3 separate regions of the Homo sapiens genome follow, and regions 2 and 3 are each linked to region 1. The links are contacts of gene promoters, found by promoter capture Hi-C in human tissues and cell types (Jung and others, 2019). All regions are on one chromosome and are shown on one strand. The core of a region is centred on a gene start or on the middle of the fragment in contact, and the rest is flanking DNA. Distances in the headings are between cores, read along the strand shown.

Region 1 (4,715 bases), core at 696-3,195:
ATATCTCTGAAGTATGTGTGTATTATTAACTCAGTAAAGTAATTTTAAGTGTCTTGTGCTGGCACCCCTCTAAGCATTTTTATAAACCTTACGCCAGTTCCATGTAGTAGGTTCTACTTTCACAGATAAGGAGACTGAGGCATAACAGAAGTTAATCAATTTGCCCAAAGTTGCACAACTAGAAAGTTGAGATGTTTGACTTTGCATCCAGGCAAAGTCTCATGCTTAATCCCTGTACTATATAATCTCTGTGGCCTCTTTGAGCTCTGAATCCTATGGCTCTTCCATGAACTTTGATGTTTTATATTCAGCAATATGTAAAAAGACTGTTCTAACATCAAGGACTAAGGATGCTGTTCCTCGTTTCTTTTTTGCCTTATTACAGGACAGCATTCTTTTTCATCACTTACATTTCTGCCTTTGAATCACGGATCCTTCATCTCCCAAGGCCTTAGAGTTAGAAGACAGATTTCTACTTCTTTTCAATTAAAAAAAAAAGAAAAAAATTTATTCCGTTTTTCTTCAGTGTCCTGGGTCATTTAATAAAGTGAATGAAAAATTTTCTCATTTATAATTTTATTAACAATAAATTATTCCTATTGCCAGGGTTCACCTGAAATCCCCAAATCAACTAGTTAAAATAGAGGCACATCTGAGAACCTCTAGATTAATAGAAGAAAGATAAAGAGTACAGAGACATAAGTATCTTACTCTTTTGTAAAAATTGAGGCGTATATATAGCTTGCTCTTTCATCTGGATTATGCTATATGGTTTGTCCTCAACAAGAAAAGTATACTGTGGGCCAGGCCTGGCCGCTCATTCCTGTAATCCCAGCACTTTGGGAGGCCTAGGCGGGAGGATTGCATAACACCAGGAGTTCGAGACAAGCCTGGGCAACATAGTGTGACCTCTTCACCACCACCACCACCACCACCACCACCACCAAAAAAATTTAAAAATTAAAACTTAGCCCAGAGTGGTGTTGCACGCCTGTAGTTTCAGCTACTTGGGAGGCTGAGATGGGAGGATTGCTTGAGCCCAGGAGTGCTGAGGCTTCAGTGAGCTATGATTAGCCACTGCACCGCACCCCCAGCCTGGGCGACAGGGCCGAGACCCTGCCTCCAAAAAAAAAAAAAAAAGCCTCAATGGTGTAAATTATTTTACATAAAATGTCTCTGTATAGTCCTATATAGACCGAGGAGGAAAACCAATGAGATATAAAGTTTTCATAATGTTAAATAATGTACAATTTCAAATAATCCTGTATATTACTATACAGTAGAAAGAATATGGTTACAAAAAACATTTCCATGAGGGCTGTGATTGAGTTCCGTGTTCCCGTAAAACACTTAGAGAAGCCTAACTGAAGATTTCTAGAACCGACTGACAACTGATTTCAGTTGTAAACACACAGTAAGCCAGCCTAGTTAGGCAGACATTCATTGCACGCCAAGGAGACACCAACGGGACTGTGTGCTCTTGCGTTATGAATCCCACGAAAATAAATCTTGTGCTCCGTGTAACATGACTTTAACTTGCAGTAATATCCTTTCATCATTTAATATTTATTGAGCGCCTACCATACACCAGGCTCAGATACTGCACTGAACACCGACCCTGTCCCATGAAGCCTTACACTGATGGGAGACACCTTTGCATGTTCCACAACCCAATTATCAAAAAAAAAAAAAAAAAAAAGATAATCACGTAACCGAAACCTGGAAATCTGCCTTGGGCACACAAAAGAGCAGGCGCGACCTCGGACCAGCTCCGAGGCAAAATTCACTCAGCGCGGGACAGCGACAGGGAATCCGGCCGCACCTGTGCCTGCAGTCTCATTGCTCGGAACGGCGCGCCACTGTGACGTGTCAGGCCCCGCCCCTGACTCTCCTCATAGTGCCCCCGCCTCCTTGCGCGAAGTGCGCAGGCTCCTGGGCAGGGCTCGGGTTCTGCCCGGGGACGCAGCCCAGTTGGTAGCGTCGCTCCCTGAGCGTTTCTAAGGGGGCCGCCCGGCCTTGTCTTTCGGCAGTGGCCGAGCCACCGCCGCCTGCCGCGCGTTCCAGAGCTGGGCGCTGCAGCTGCACTGCCGATCGCCGTGTTTGGTCGATAGAATCCCCAGTGTGCCCAGAGAGTGCGACCCCTCGCCCGGCCCGGCGAGCCCCGGGCGTGAACCGAGCTGAGGGAGGATGGCAGCCTCTGGGGTGGAGAAGAGCAGCAAGAAGAAGACCGAGAAGAAACTTGCTGCTCGGGAAGAAGCTAAATTGTTGGCGGGTTTCATGGGCGTCATGAATAACATGCGGAAACAGGTACCGCCTCTGTGGGAGTGACGGACGACGGTGGGAGGTGGTCCGGGGCTCGGGCCCCTGGTTCCCGGGGTGGAACCCCGCGCCCTGTGGATCGCGCCCCTCTTTCTCTGTCCTCGCCCCTCCTTCCGTTTTCGCAGGCGAGCGATTCCGCAGTTGGTAGAGGGGCGCGTAAAACAATTCTCGAGCAAAAGTGCTTCTCGTCTGCCGAGGATGTAGCTCCCAAGTCAGACTCCTGGGGGACTCCTCAGGCTGGCTTTCGCCGTCGGGTATCGGTTGTGTAACAGCTCTGCCCTAGTTATCTCTTTGTGGGGCGAGGATCCTTCCATTGGCGAGCCGTTTTAAGGTGCCGTGAGATCTTGTGTGAAGAAACCCGTTGGCATAGCCCAAACCGAAGCCCCCAAAGGGAGGAGAGTTGCTGGCCTGACATCAGCTGCTCTTAAATAAGGATCCCCGCCCCCTCCTGTGTTCCCCGGTGGAGCTAGTTGAAGAGGAGTCCTCCTGTTCGTGCTAATTTAGAGCAGAAGCAGCCATCGATAAATACCATGCCATCTTCTAAGGGCACTGTGCGCCTCTGTTATTAAGAGGAGCTCTTTGTTCTGTCCTTGGTGTGTGGTGCATTCGTGAAATTCTGCAGCACATCGGCGAAAGGTGGGTTATGAAAAGAACGGATTTTAACGCTGGCGAAGGTGAAACAAAGAGGCTTTTTTTTTTTTTAATTCCATAACATCTACACCGATAAGCATAGAAAGTCACTTTTTCCTTTCTGTAAGCTTTATTTATAGATAATACACATCTAAGTAGATTTGTGGGAATGTTTGGGTTTTGTTGACTGGGATCCTGTTTCAAGGGGACAAAGCAGGATGTGAGTTATGTGTAACTGCAAAACCTAGTTTGCTTTGTCTGGTGGTTCTGCTGGGAATATGGGCAACAGTAGAGGAATTTAAGATTTTTATGAAGATATTAACTTCTGGTTTCTATAAGCAAACGCTGACTGCTGGGATTTTGTCTTTGTTCACCAGCTCCTGCTACAGTGCACCAGTGCAGTCTGTGGGAATGCTTTTAAATCTTTCCTGGCCTGGCCTTTGTGCTGAAGTACTGTGAATGCCTGAATTCGTTAATTTATGTAACTGACTTTCATGTATCTATTTTCAAATTCATGTTCCTTTCATGTAAACCTTTTTGTATCTACAATACCACAGACTTCAAATTGCTGGTGCATTTAGCTATTGCCTGCCTGTAATGGTAGTTGAACATAGTTAACCAGGGCTTAAACTCGTTGAAGACTCATTAGGTTCCCTCCCACTCCCTCGAATATATGTTTTCATTCGTGGATCATAGCATTGTAAAGCATTGCCTTAATCCCTAAATAGGGTGAAACTGGATTGCAGCAGCAAATATTTACTTGAGGAGCAGAGGATTATCTGAGACTGTCCGTTTAGCTCTTTGGATTTAAAAAGTGACTCACATTTCTTAGCTTTGGAGTATATTAACATCACTTATTTACCGTTACAATAGAAGTACAATTACTGAAAAATCAGGGTTCTGTTACTGAGTAGGAAGGAAAAAATGGTTACCTGGTGAACAACCAGGGGTCCCCTCCACAATGATTAACTGACCTTAATCTGCCAGGTTCTCCTGTTGTCAGTGGTTTGGCATGTGATTCAAACAGTTCTCCAATAGCACTTTTATCAACTTCATGGAATCATGCATCTTTTGCAAGATGTGCAGTTTCACTTCGCAATTGATTTACATTATGGTTATATTGTATTGTCCTGTTTAACATCATAACACAGGAAACAATTGACCGAGAATGACTGACAAGGGCAGTTGATGGGAATTGGCAGAAACAGTGGCTGGTCTGAGCCAGAGTAGGAATGTTTGAGTGAGGACCAACTTTATAAGTGCTCTTGTTCTTTAGTAAATATTTTTGTGTTATGACTACTTTTACATCCCTTTACAATCTCATTGCTTTAAGGATCAGGATAATGAGTGCCTAGATGACAAGGACCCCTCTGTAAACATCCAGAAACATTCCTTCAAGAATTTGAGAACATTGTGAGATTAGCATACCTCAGTTCCAATCCTGCTCTCTCATTATTTCATTTTGTTATTTTAGATAACATGATTTGGGTCATTCCATCTCTCTGTAGTATAGTGGCCGATTCTATACATAGAGGCAAAAGGGGATTCTGCAGAGCCAGCAGCCTCGGCTTCTTCTAAAGCCTTTTCCTACATTGTTTTTGTCATTTCTAGCCTTTTGTTTCTAAGTAAACTCTCCAGTGAAGTATGGGATACATATAAGAGGGCACAAATCATAAATGTATAGCTCAATTATTACAAAGTGCACATCCCACCAACAAGACGAGAACATGACCAGTACACCAGAGGTCCCCCCTTATGCCCTTCTC
Region 2 (4,715 bases), core at 1,431-3,930, 610 kb before region 1:
TTTTTCCAAGTAGGGGAAGGGGGATAGGGTTTTGAGGTGAAACTGTTCCACCTCAGATCATCAGGCAATAGTTAGATTCTCATAAGGAGCACACAACCTAGGTCCCTTGCATGTGCAGTTTGCAATAGGGTTCATGTACTTAGGAGAATCTAATGCCACCGTTCATCTGACAGGAGGTGGAGCTCAGGCAGTAATGCTCGCTGGCCTGCCACTCCCCTCCTGCTGTGCAGCCCAGTTCCTAACAGGACACTGACTGATACCAGTCTGCGGCCAGGGGGTTGGGGACCCCTGCACTAACGTGACAACAGCACCAAGGGGGGATGGTGTTAAACCATGAGAAACTGCTCCCATGGTCCGATCACCTCCCACCAGACCCCAGCTCCCGCACTGGGGGTTACATTTCAACATGAGATCTGAGGGGGAGACACAGCTCCAAACCATATCACCAACTTAATAGTTTGTGGGGTGGGGGAGGGAGGTGCTAGGAATGGAAGTGTCACCTACTATAATCAAATGTAAGAAATAATCCACTATGTTTAGAAGATCTTTTAACTTTGAGAGGTGCAGGATGGTAAGGATGCTAACAAATCCACCCACATTTATTCAGTATGAATTCAGTAACTATATTGTGAACAACAATGTAAGGCAGGAGGAATGCAAAGTTAAATGAGATAAAGCCTCTGCTCTGAAAAACCTTGAGGTCTAGGAGAGAAGGCAGGCATTTCAACTGCATGGTAGAGCGATGTATCCTAGAAGAGGATAAAGTTTTATAGGCAGATGGTGGCATGGGAAGGGAAGTAGAGGAAAAGGCTCAGCGCTGTCTTCTAGACCCAGTCCTGGGGTAGCTAGCAGGTTGGCAGTGTTTGCTGACTGATTGCCACTACAAAGAGTCTGGGTGGAAAACCAGAGTGGCCCTGGAGAGTTACCCAGCCATTTGTCTGCATGGTAAGGAGACCACACTCAAGAGCGAAGCCAAGGAAAAGCCCATGACAGTGAGGAAGCTTGTTGACTGTGTGGCCCACACTCAACTCTATGCCCATAAGCCAGGAAAATAAACTATGAGTCAAATAAATTTGTTGGTTTTCATCAGACATTAACCAAAATGTAATTTAAGTTCTACAGTAAAATCTTTTCATAAAAAGAAAAATAACAGAAAACAACCTAGTGTTAAAATGTTAGGAACCCCAGAATTCGACCCAAAGTTCTCTTTCACCCGCTTTTAAAAAAGTGGAGCACATTTCTAATGCGACTGCTGTTTTGCTGTACCAAGATGGCTGCCCTGGTGTTCCTAAATGTTGGCACAGCCCAACTGACTCATGTTTATGTCCCGCAGTTGAGAATATGAAGAAACCCAATGCCTGGAATACATTGTGGGTTGCACTGCATTTCCAACCTTTTATACTTTCAAGTGCACACTTGTTTTACATTTAACTAAGTGAAGTCGAGTTTTTTGGGTTTTTTTTTCACTGTGCTGTTTTTCTTTTTAAGCATTGCTTTCCCTCTGTGCTTAACATTCATGTTAAATGAATAACCTTTTATTACACGTCAGGATGTGGAGGGAAATGTATTTTACAAAAGTAACAAAGTAAGAAATTTGGAAGTGTACAAAAAATTTATGTCTACAAACTCCTTCCAGTGGATTTGACCAGAATTACATATTTAAAGCCTTGATTGACTATTTTGGAGGGAACCTGAACCCCACCCAGATCCTGAAAGAGTAGGGCCAGTGTTCTAAGGACTGAAAATGAAAACCTCTGTTACCAGGAAACCCGAAGACGAGAAGTAGCACGATTTTAAGTACTGTGCACCAGTCATTCGTCAATGCACAGCAAACTCTGGCGACTTTGCCACGTTAAAAAACTTGCCATCAAAATCCAACCTGAGCACAAACTTAATAATCTACCACAACCTTAAGCCCCTAGCGAAAAGGCTTCCTCTGAGTCCCTGGCTCCCCCCAGCCCCCGGCCCGGCCACAACCCAGCTGGGCTGGAAGACAGGGCGCCCCAGAGCCGCGCATAAGCGAAGAATTGAGCACCGCTCGCCCAGGAGGGCCGCCGTCCAGGTCACGAGAAGGCTTGCGACCCGCTACACCCCTCCCAAGACTGGGAGCGGGCGCCCAGCCTTGCAGGGACACGCAGGCGGACTCGAGGAGCAAACGGCCAGTGAGAACGATTCAAGGGACTCACCCACTCCTCGCCGTAGCTTGACCGTGAGTCTCAGCTGCCGCTGCTGCCGGGAGGTGCCGGCCCCACGCGGCGCCTGAGCCTCCAGAGCGCGAAGCCTCCAAGCCTGCTGCAGGCCCCGCCTCCTTGTCAGTTGCGCGTCCAGCGCCACCTGCTGGCGCCCCGCGTCCGCAGGGTTCGGGAACGTCCTTGGAGGCTAAGACTCCCCAAGTCGCACTCCGGCCTCTCCCAGTTTCCTCTCAAATGCCGTCTGCCCTGCCCTTGAGGTCCGTTTCGCGCCCTCCAACCCCTCGCCTTTTGTTTAATCTCCACTAAGGAACGTTTGTGCATTTCTCTAGAGCAGTGGTTCTCAGACTTCAGCGTGTATAAGATTACCCGGGGGCATATTAAAACACCGATTGTTGGGCTGTCCACCCACAGTTTCCGGTTCAGTATGTCTGGGATGAGGTCTGAGATTCTCATTTCTAACAAGTTCCCATGAGATATGGAAGCATTCCCAGATCACACTTTGAGATAGACCGTTTAGAGCTTACAAACCCTCCCACACGTTAGCTTATTTATTTTTATTTTATTTTATTTTTTTTTGAGACGGAGTCTCAGTCTGTTGCCCAGGCTGGAGTGCGGTGGCGCGATCTTGGCTAACTGCAACCTCCGGCCCCGGGTTCAAGCGATTCTCCTGCCTCAGCCTCCCGAGTAGCTGGGATTACAGGCGCCTGCCACTGTGCCCGGCTAATTTTTGTATTTTTAGTAGAGACGGGGGTTTCACCATCTTGGCCAGGCTGGTCCTGAACTCCTGACCTCGTGATCCACCCGCCTCGGCCTCCCAAAGTGCTGAGATTACAGGCGTGAGCCACCGCGCCCAGCCACCTTATTTAAAACCTAACAGCCGGTCCTGAAGTGGCTGTGATTGACAGTTTGAGGAATCCGAAGCTGAATTTCTGAGAGTGACTTGCTCCCTGAATTGTTCAAATTGTGTACCTTTAATCGCACAAACCCTGCTCCCCAGCCGAAAAAAAAAACCCTTAAACCCCATGTTTACTCCGTCCCTCCCTTCCTTGCCTCAGCTTTTAAGTGCAGCTTCCCATATCCTAGCTCAATGAAGTATTCCAAACCTAAAGTAAAGTTAACTGTTAATATTCCAAGGTTTTAGAAAAAGACAACTTGAGCAGGGGATTTACTTCTCTCCGTTGGAACCAGCCTCGAGATAGGGTCTGAGACATGAATTGCAAAATTCTGGGGATTTGGTATACAACATTCTCAGGACTAAGCTGAGTAGAAAACACAAAGGAAAATAAACGCGCAACCACATTTTCCATGATTGTTTTTTATTCACAGCTAGGGCACCGAAGACTGTTCATGTTTTAATATAAGCATTTTCTGTAGTCACTGACTTTCCATGGATTAGTTTAAAGCCCTTTGAAGATTAAATTACCGTGGACTGACACCTTGTGGTGGAAATAGAATCTTACACCTGTTGTTTCTAGTGAAACTAGAAAATAATTTTAAAGTTTTAGAAAAGAAATCTGTGTAATCTTTGTATGTGTAGCACAGACTACAAAGAATTAAGACTATTTAACCAAGCATTGTTGAGTTTTAAAAGTGATCATGGGTCTTAAATGGTCAGACAAAACGATATGCTTTTATTGTTTAACATTTGGTAGAACAAAGGTCATTCTCTTTTTCACAATATATTTTCCATATGAAAAGGGCAAAGAGTTATTATTGTGTTAACATAATAATATATATTGATATGAATATGGCTATATAGCAAGCTGCACTTAAAACTGCTTTTCCTTTTCTAATTAAAACATTTAAAATCAAACCCCAAATATTTTTGTTTTATAATTAGACTTTGGCAATTTTATTTCTGCACTTCTTATAAAAGTTTTTTTTGCCCAATATTTTAGTGTGGAGAATAAATAGAGTATGTTCCAAAGTGAAATGATTAAAAGTGTGAGATTTATCAATTAGTTTGTAGATATTATAAAAGCAACACAATATTCGATTAAGAAAAACATGTTACTAAAAAGCTTTTATTGAGTCGCCAGCAGTTAGTATCACAGATGAACTAGCTGCAGTTTTTGCATACAAATAACCTGTAATTTGAGGTATGAGATAAAGAAAAAAAATTTTTGTGGGGGGGGCGGGTAATACAATGCCAGAGCATCTCAGAATGCTGAGTCAGCCTCTTTAGCACATACTTTTAAAAACAAGTGTGGCTTGTGGAAAGCCACATTATGCTATTGCAAATGTTGAAAGGCAAGTTGCTAGTTTTGCTGTGACTCTAAACAACTAGAGGATTTAAAATGGGAGTTTGCCCACGAGTTACAAATAAATTTAGATCTTTCAGAATATTCTGTAATAAACTTAAACTATAGTGAGAGCGCATATTAACATAATGGACCTCAGTGTCATTTGAGGTCAAATACTAAACTGGTGACTTCATAATAACATGCTGTGGAGAAAATATAATTTAGAATCCATGAGTATTTTTGCCTGACAAATAAGCAACCTGATCTTAGAACCTGATGA
Region 3 (4,715 bases), core at 1,104-3,603, 550 kb before region 1:
AAGTGGGCGGTGAGGCCCAGTGCCGCAGCCCCAGGGAAATGGCAGTGACACAGGTGGCAGCCACCTTCAGAGCGCCAGGCCCCCGCCAGCACATCTGCAGGTAGCAGCTTTGGCCACAGGAAGGCGCATCTGCACTGCCGGGTTCGCAAAAGCGGGGCGTGTGGGCTGAATTCCCACTTTCAGCAGCGGGAGAGGCTGGAAGAGACTGGGTTCCTGCCACTTGGAATTCAAGCCCTGGACTGTGGTGGGGTCTTGGTTTGATAGCCTGATTTTGGTCGCTATTTTTGCCGGCTGACACTTTATCCTCCACCCCTCTTTTTTTGTTGATGGGATTATTGACATAGAATAAAATTTTCCAAGGTTAAGTGTACAGTTTGAGAAATTTTGGTAATTGTATCGAATCATTTAACTGCCATCATAAACAACATGGAACAGTTCTATCATCCTAAAAGTTCCCTCCTACCTCACTGTTCTTCACATCTGCTGTGACCACACAGCCCCAGGCAACTCCTCGGCTGCTTTCTGTTACTAGGTTTCCCTTTTCCAGAAAGTTTTCCAAATGGAATCAGTCTTTTTAAATCTGGCATCATTCACTTAGTATAATGTTTTGATATTCAGCCACGTTGTTGTGTGTCTTCTGTCTTGTTCCAGGGTATGGAGATACCACAAGTTGTTTATCCATTCACAAATTGGTGGACATTTGCGTTGTTTCCAGTTTTTGAATTTTACGTATAAAGTTGCTATGAACAATTTTATACATTTTTGTACACACAGGTTTTTATTTGTCTTTGGTAAACACCTAAGGAGTGGGAATGCTGGGGCATGTGGTAAATGTCTGGTTAACTTCATGAGGTACTGCCAGACTGTTTTCCAAAAGGGCTAACCCTTTTACATTCCCACCAGTAATGTAGAAGAGTTCCAGTTTCTCTGCATCACTTGCTATCTCCAGTCTCTTTAACCCTAGCTGCTCTAGTGGACATGTCTGACCATCACTTTTGATTTTACCCCATCAGGTCCAGGGTCTAGAGAAACCCCCTTGCAGAATGCTCCCGCCACACTGCTTCAAAAGCACGAAGGGTGCTGAGTAGTCGGCGAGTGTCAGAAGGCTCTGTGGCTGCAACCTTCCTTTCAGGCCTCCCAAGGATGCTGAGCAGCTGCTACTGTAGAACAAAGTTCTAATACACAGATGAGAGGGAGTGTTCTTATTGAGAGAGAAGTGAGAATGAATACCAGCAATACCCTCAAAAACTTCTGAATGCATTGGATATTTTTATAGCCAGCGGACAGTTGTCAGTTAATTGTGGCCTCAGCCTTGCAGAGACCCATCTGGAAATATCTTTAAATGGATAAACCTCAAATTACTTTCATCATGCCAAATGCATACTTCTATAGCTCATCATATGTACATAGTGAAAGAAGAAAGCCAAGCATGAATGATAGGCTAAACACATCTCTAAAAACATCATAGTGGGGGCGTAAGCACCGAGTTCTCCAGAGGGTCCTGAAAGATGCTGTTGACAAAATACCAGAGCACAGCAGTCCTATTCTAAGTAACACAGAACAGCCTTCTCACTGAAGCAGCGATGCGGAGTCTGGAGCCTTCTACCACATCCTGCTCTCATTCAGATGGGTAGGCTGCCATCTGCAAGAGCCAGCAGATCTGGAACCAGTGCAGGGAGATGGTGGGGGATGCGGGGAGTTTCTGGTCTCAGATAATGAGAGCGTATTAGTTTGCTAGGACTGCCTAGCAACAAAGTACCACAGACCAGGTGGTTTAACCAATAGAAATTTATGGTCCCACAGTTCTAGAGGTTAGGGGTTTCAGATCAAAGTCTCTGCAGGTTTGTTTCCTTGAGGGCTGTGAGGGAGAATCTGTTCCAAGCCTCTGTCTTGGCTTCTCACGGTTTGCTAGCAATCTTTGGTGTTCCTTGGTGTAGATGCATCAGCCCTATCTGTTTTGCATGGCGTTCTCCCTGTGTGCATGGCTGTCTCCAAATTTCCCCTTTATATGAAGACACCAGTCATATCAGAGTAGGGACCCTCCCTACTCCAGTGTGACCTCATCTTAACTAATTAAATCTGCAAAGACTATTCCAAATAAGGTCACATTCTGAGGTATTGGGAATTTGGGGGAGACCCAATTCAACCTGCAACAGAGGGTCTGGATATCTTTAAATCAGTTCCTGACTTTACCTCTTCCCAAAAATAACATGGGTGCTAATGAGGTACCCATTGGGCTGGATAAATCCTGGACTCAGAGAATCATCACAGAACCCACATGTCTGACTCCAAGAGGAAATGCACCAGCATGACCAGGAATTGCCAGCAATACTCTGCTGTAAGCATGTGGGTGGCCTGGGCATGGGGTAAGCTCCTGGGTTCTGCTAGGGCTAAACATGCTGCTTCATCCCCACACTCTTCACTCTGCCCCAGGACACCCTGGATGCAGCAGGGGAAACTTAGGCAAGGCTGGCAGCAGCACCCACCCCTAAATTTTGCTTCCACGAGCTCTAAGCCAGTGTACAGGTGCAGCAACTTGGAATCCCCTGGAGAACCACCTGCAGATTCTTAGTCTTCCTCATCTCCTTTCACCACCACTCCAGACTTCCCATTTGTCTCCCTGAGTGACTGCCATGGCCCCCTAAAGTTCCCCTCATTGCCATCCTTGATCCATTATAGTTTATCCTCAACACAGTAGCCTTGGTGATTCTCTTGAACATAATAGAAATTGTGTCAGGATGGGGACCGGGTTAAGCTACTCATGGGAAGGCTAAAACATGTGGTTCACACATATCCCTCCCTAGGACTCTGATGCACTGGATTCAGGGTGGCAAACTCAGGTAAAGCTGCTCTGAATCATTCAGAGTTCATGCCGGAGTGCCAACAAGGCCACCAGACTTGGAAATGGCCCAGTGTTTCCTCTCTGGCCACATCTCCTACAGCTTTTCCCTGGGTCACTCTAATCAGTCACTCTGGTGTCCTCACTGCTCCTAGAATGAGCTATCCCCCTCCCTACCGCAGAGCCTCTACCCAGGTATCTGTGAGGCTTGCTCCCCGCTCCTTTGAGACCTTGTTTCAAGATCACCTTCTCAGTCAGGCCTACTCTCACGGCCTCATTGAAAATTGCACCTGCTCCCAATCCCCATCACTGTGCTCAGTTTTTCCCATAACATTTTTCACCTTTTAACCTGATATCCTTATTCCGTCCTTCCCTGACACTAGAATGGAAGCTTCATGAGGGTGAAGAATTTTTGTTTTGTTCTTGGATATATGCTTAGGGCTAGACCATTGCTTGGCATAGAGTACATATTCAGTTTATGTTTGTTGGACAAATAAGTTTTGAAATAGACACATTCCCGGGCCGCATCCCAGATGTGTGGCATGGAAATTGCAGCACCAAAAGTGCAGTAATCTGCATTGCTGCAAAGCCCCCACTGTGTTTCTTGGGTTCACCAAAATTTGAGAACAAAAGTTTGAGTCCGAGGGGTGATGGAGCTACCCAGCCTCAGCCCCATGTCTCTGAAAAGCACAGAGAAGGGGGAAAACGAACCAGGCAGGATGACCTCCTGAGAGCATCTGATCTTCACTACCAGTCCCAGGTCTTAGATTTCCTTAGATTCAGGATGGGTTAAGATGACCTCAACCCACATGGCTAAGCTCCCAGCTGATGGGCCCCCTGCCCCTGAGCTCCGGGTTCTAAGGGAGATAAGGTTCCCAAGCCATAGGCAGATGAGGTGGATTGACAATCGGTTTACAAGGTGGGTGTATTAGTCTGTTTTCATGCTGCTATAAAGACATATTGGAGACTGGGTAATATATAAAGAAAGGAGGTTTAACTGACGCACAGTTCACATGGCAGGAGAAGCCTAGGAAATCTATAATCATGGCAAAAGGAGAAGGAGAAGGAGAAGCAAGTACCTTCTTTACTAGGTGGCAGGAGAGAGGAGCGGGCACAGGGGAAACTGCCACTTATAAACCATCAGATCTCATGAGAACTCCCTTCACTATCATGAGAACAGCATGGGGGAAACTGCTCCCATGATCCAATCACCTCCCACCAGGTCCCTCCCTGACACATCGGGATTACAATACGAGATGGGATTTGGGTGGGAACAAACAGCCAAACCATATCAGTAAGTGAGAGGTCACAGCCAACTATTCGGTCAACTACGCAGCCATGGAATTAGGCTCACTGGATCAAATTGAGTGGGAAAATCCCCTGCTTTTAGCTATTATCTAGGACATTTAGAAAGTCTCACAGTGGTGAAGGCAAAGAACTGAAGACTGGAATGGTAGGAGAAGTCTCGTTTGAAGCCAGGGGGAGTGAGAGGAAGTACCTTGTGGCCCCTCGGCTATACTAGCACGACCTGTGTCACACCTTTAGGAAGCTGGAGACAACATCGGAATTGGATCAGCTGGATGGGGGGCCATCAGGAAAGGCTGGATGCAGACTGACTTTGCTCAGGAAGAGAAAATTTAAAGATATTTTCAGAAGCACTCCTTTTCTTTTGATTTCTTCATAACCCTAACAATATTTGACTCATCATCAGAAACTTAAATTAATTATGAGAAACTCCAAGGAAATCTTCAGATCGTATGTCCCTCTAGTCCATCACTGGCCTCCCTGGGTGTGTGTAAAGGAAGGTGCTTACTCCTGTGGGCTCTCTCAGCCCTGCCATTCTGGGAGTCTAGGATTCTGTGTCCCACCCTCCTTG

The links. Contacts are between HindIII fragments. The study calls those that stand out against the background at their distance.
Region 2: a contact is called between a fragment that was not itself captured here and the fragment with the promoter of KLHL7 in region 1, in 1 of the 25 tissues and cell types used here (lymphoblastoid cells).
Region 3: a fragment that was not itself captured here is called in contact with the fragment with the promoter of KLHL7 in region 1 in 1 of the 25 tissues and cell types used here (dorsolateral prefrontal cortex).

The regions. Positions count from the first base shown.
Region 1 is chr7:23,103,840-23,108,554 of GRCh38, forward strand. KLHL7 (kelch like family member 7) reads left to right here and starts at 1,946. Exons shown (of 11, transcript NM_001031710.3): 1 at 1,946-2,307. The coding sequence starts at 2,188. It overlaps KLHL7-DT (KLHL7 divergent transcript), which reads right to left and starts at 1,864. Exons shown (of 3, transcript NR_046220.1): 1 at 1,720-1,864; 2 at 411-478. RefSeq lists enhancers at 1,134-2,120, 1,743-1,932, 2,053-2,332, 2,121-3,107, 2,813-2,892. The HindIII fragment of the contact is 7,258 bases long and covers 1-4,384 here.
Region 2 is chr7:22,497,928-22,502,642 of GRCh38, forward strand. STEAP1B (STEAP family member 1B) reads right to left here and starts at 2,261. Exons shown (of 5, transcript NM_001382447.1): 1 at 2,187-2,261. The HindIII fragment of the contact is 6,072 bases long and covers 1-4,715 here.
Region 3 is chr7:22,550,312-22,555,026 of GRCh38, forward strand. No RefSeq gene overlaps it. Among named protein-coding and RNA genes, the nearest start is that of STEAP1B-AS1, 11 kb to the right of the region's middle. The HindIII fragment of the contact is 3,432 bases long and covers 638-4,069 here.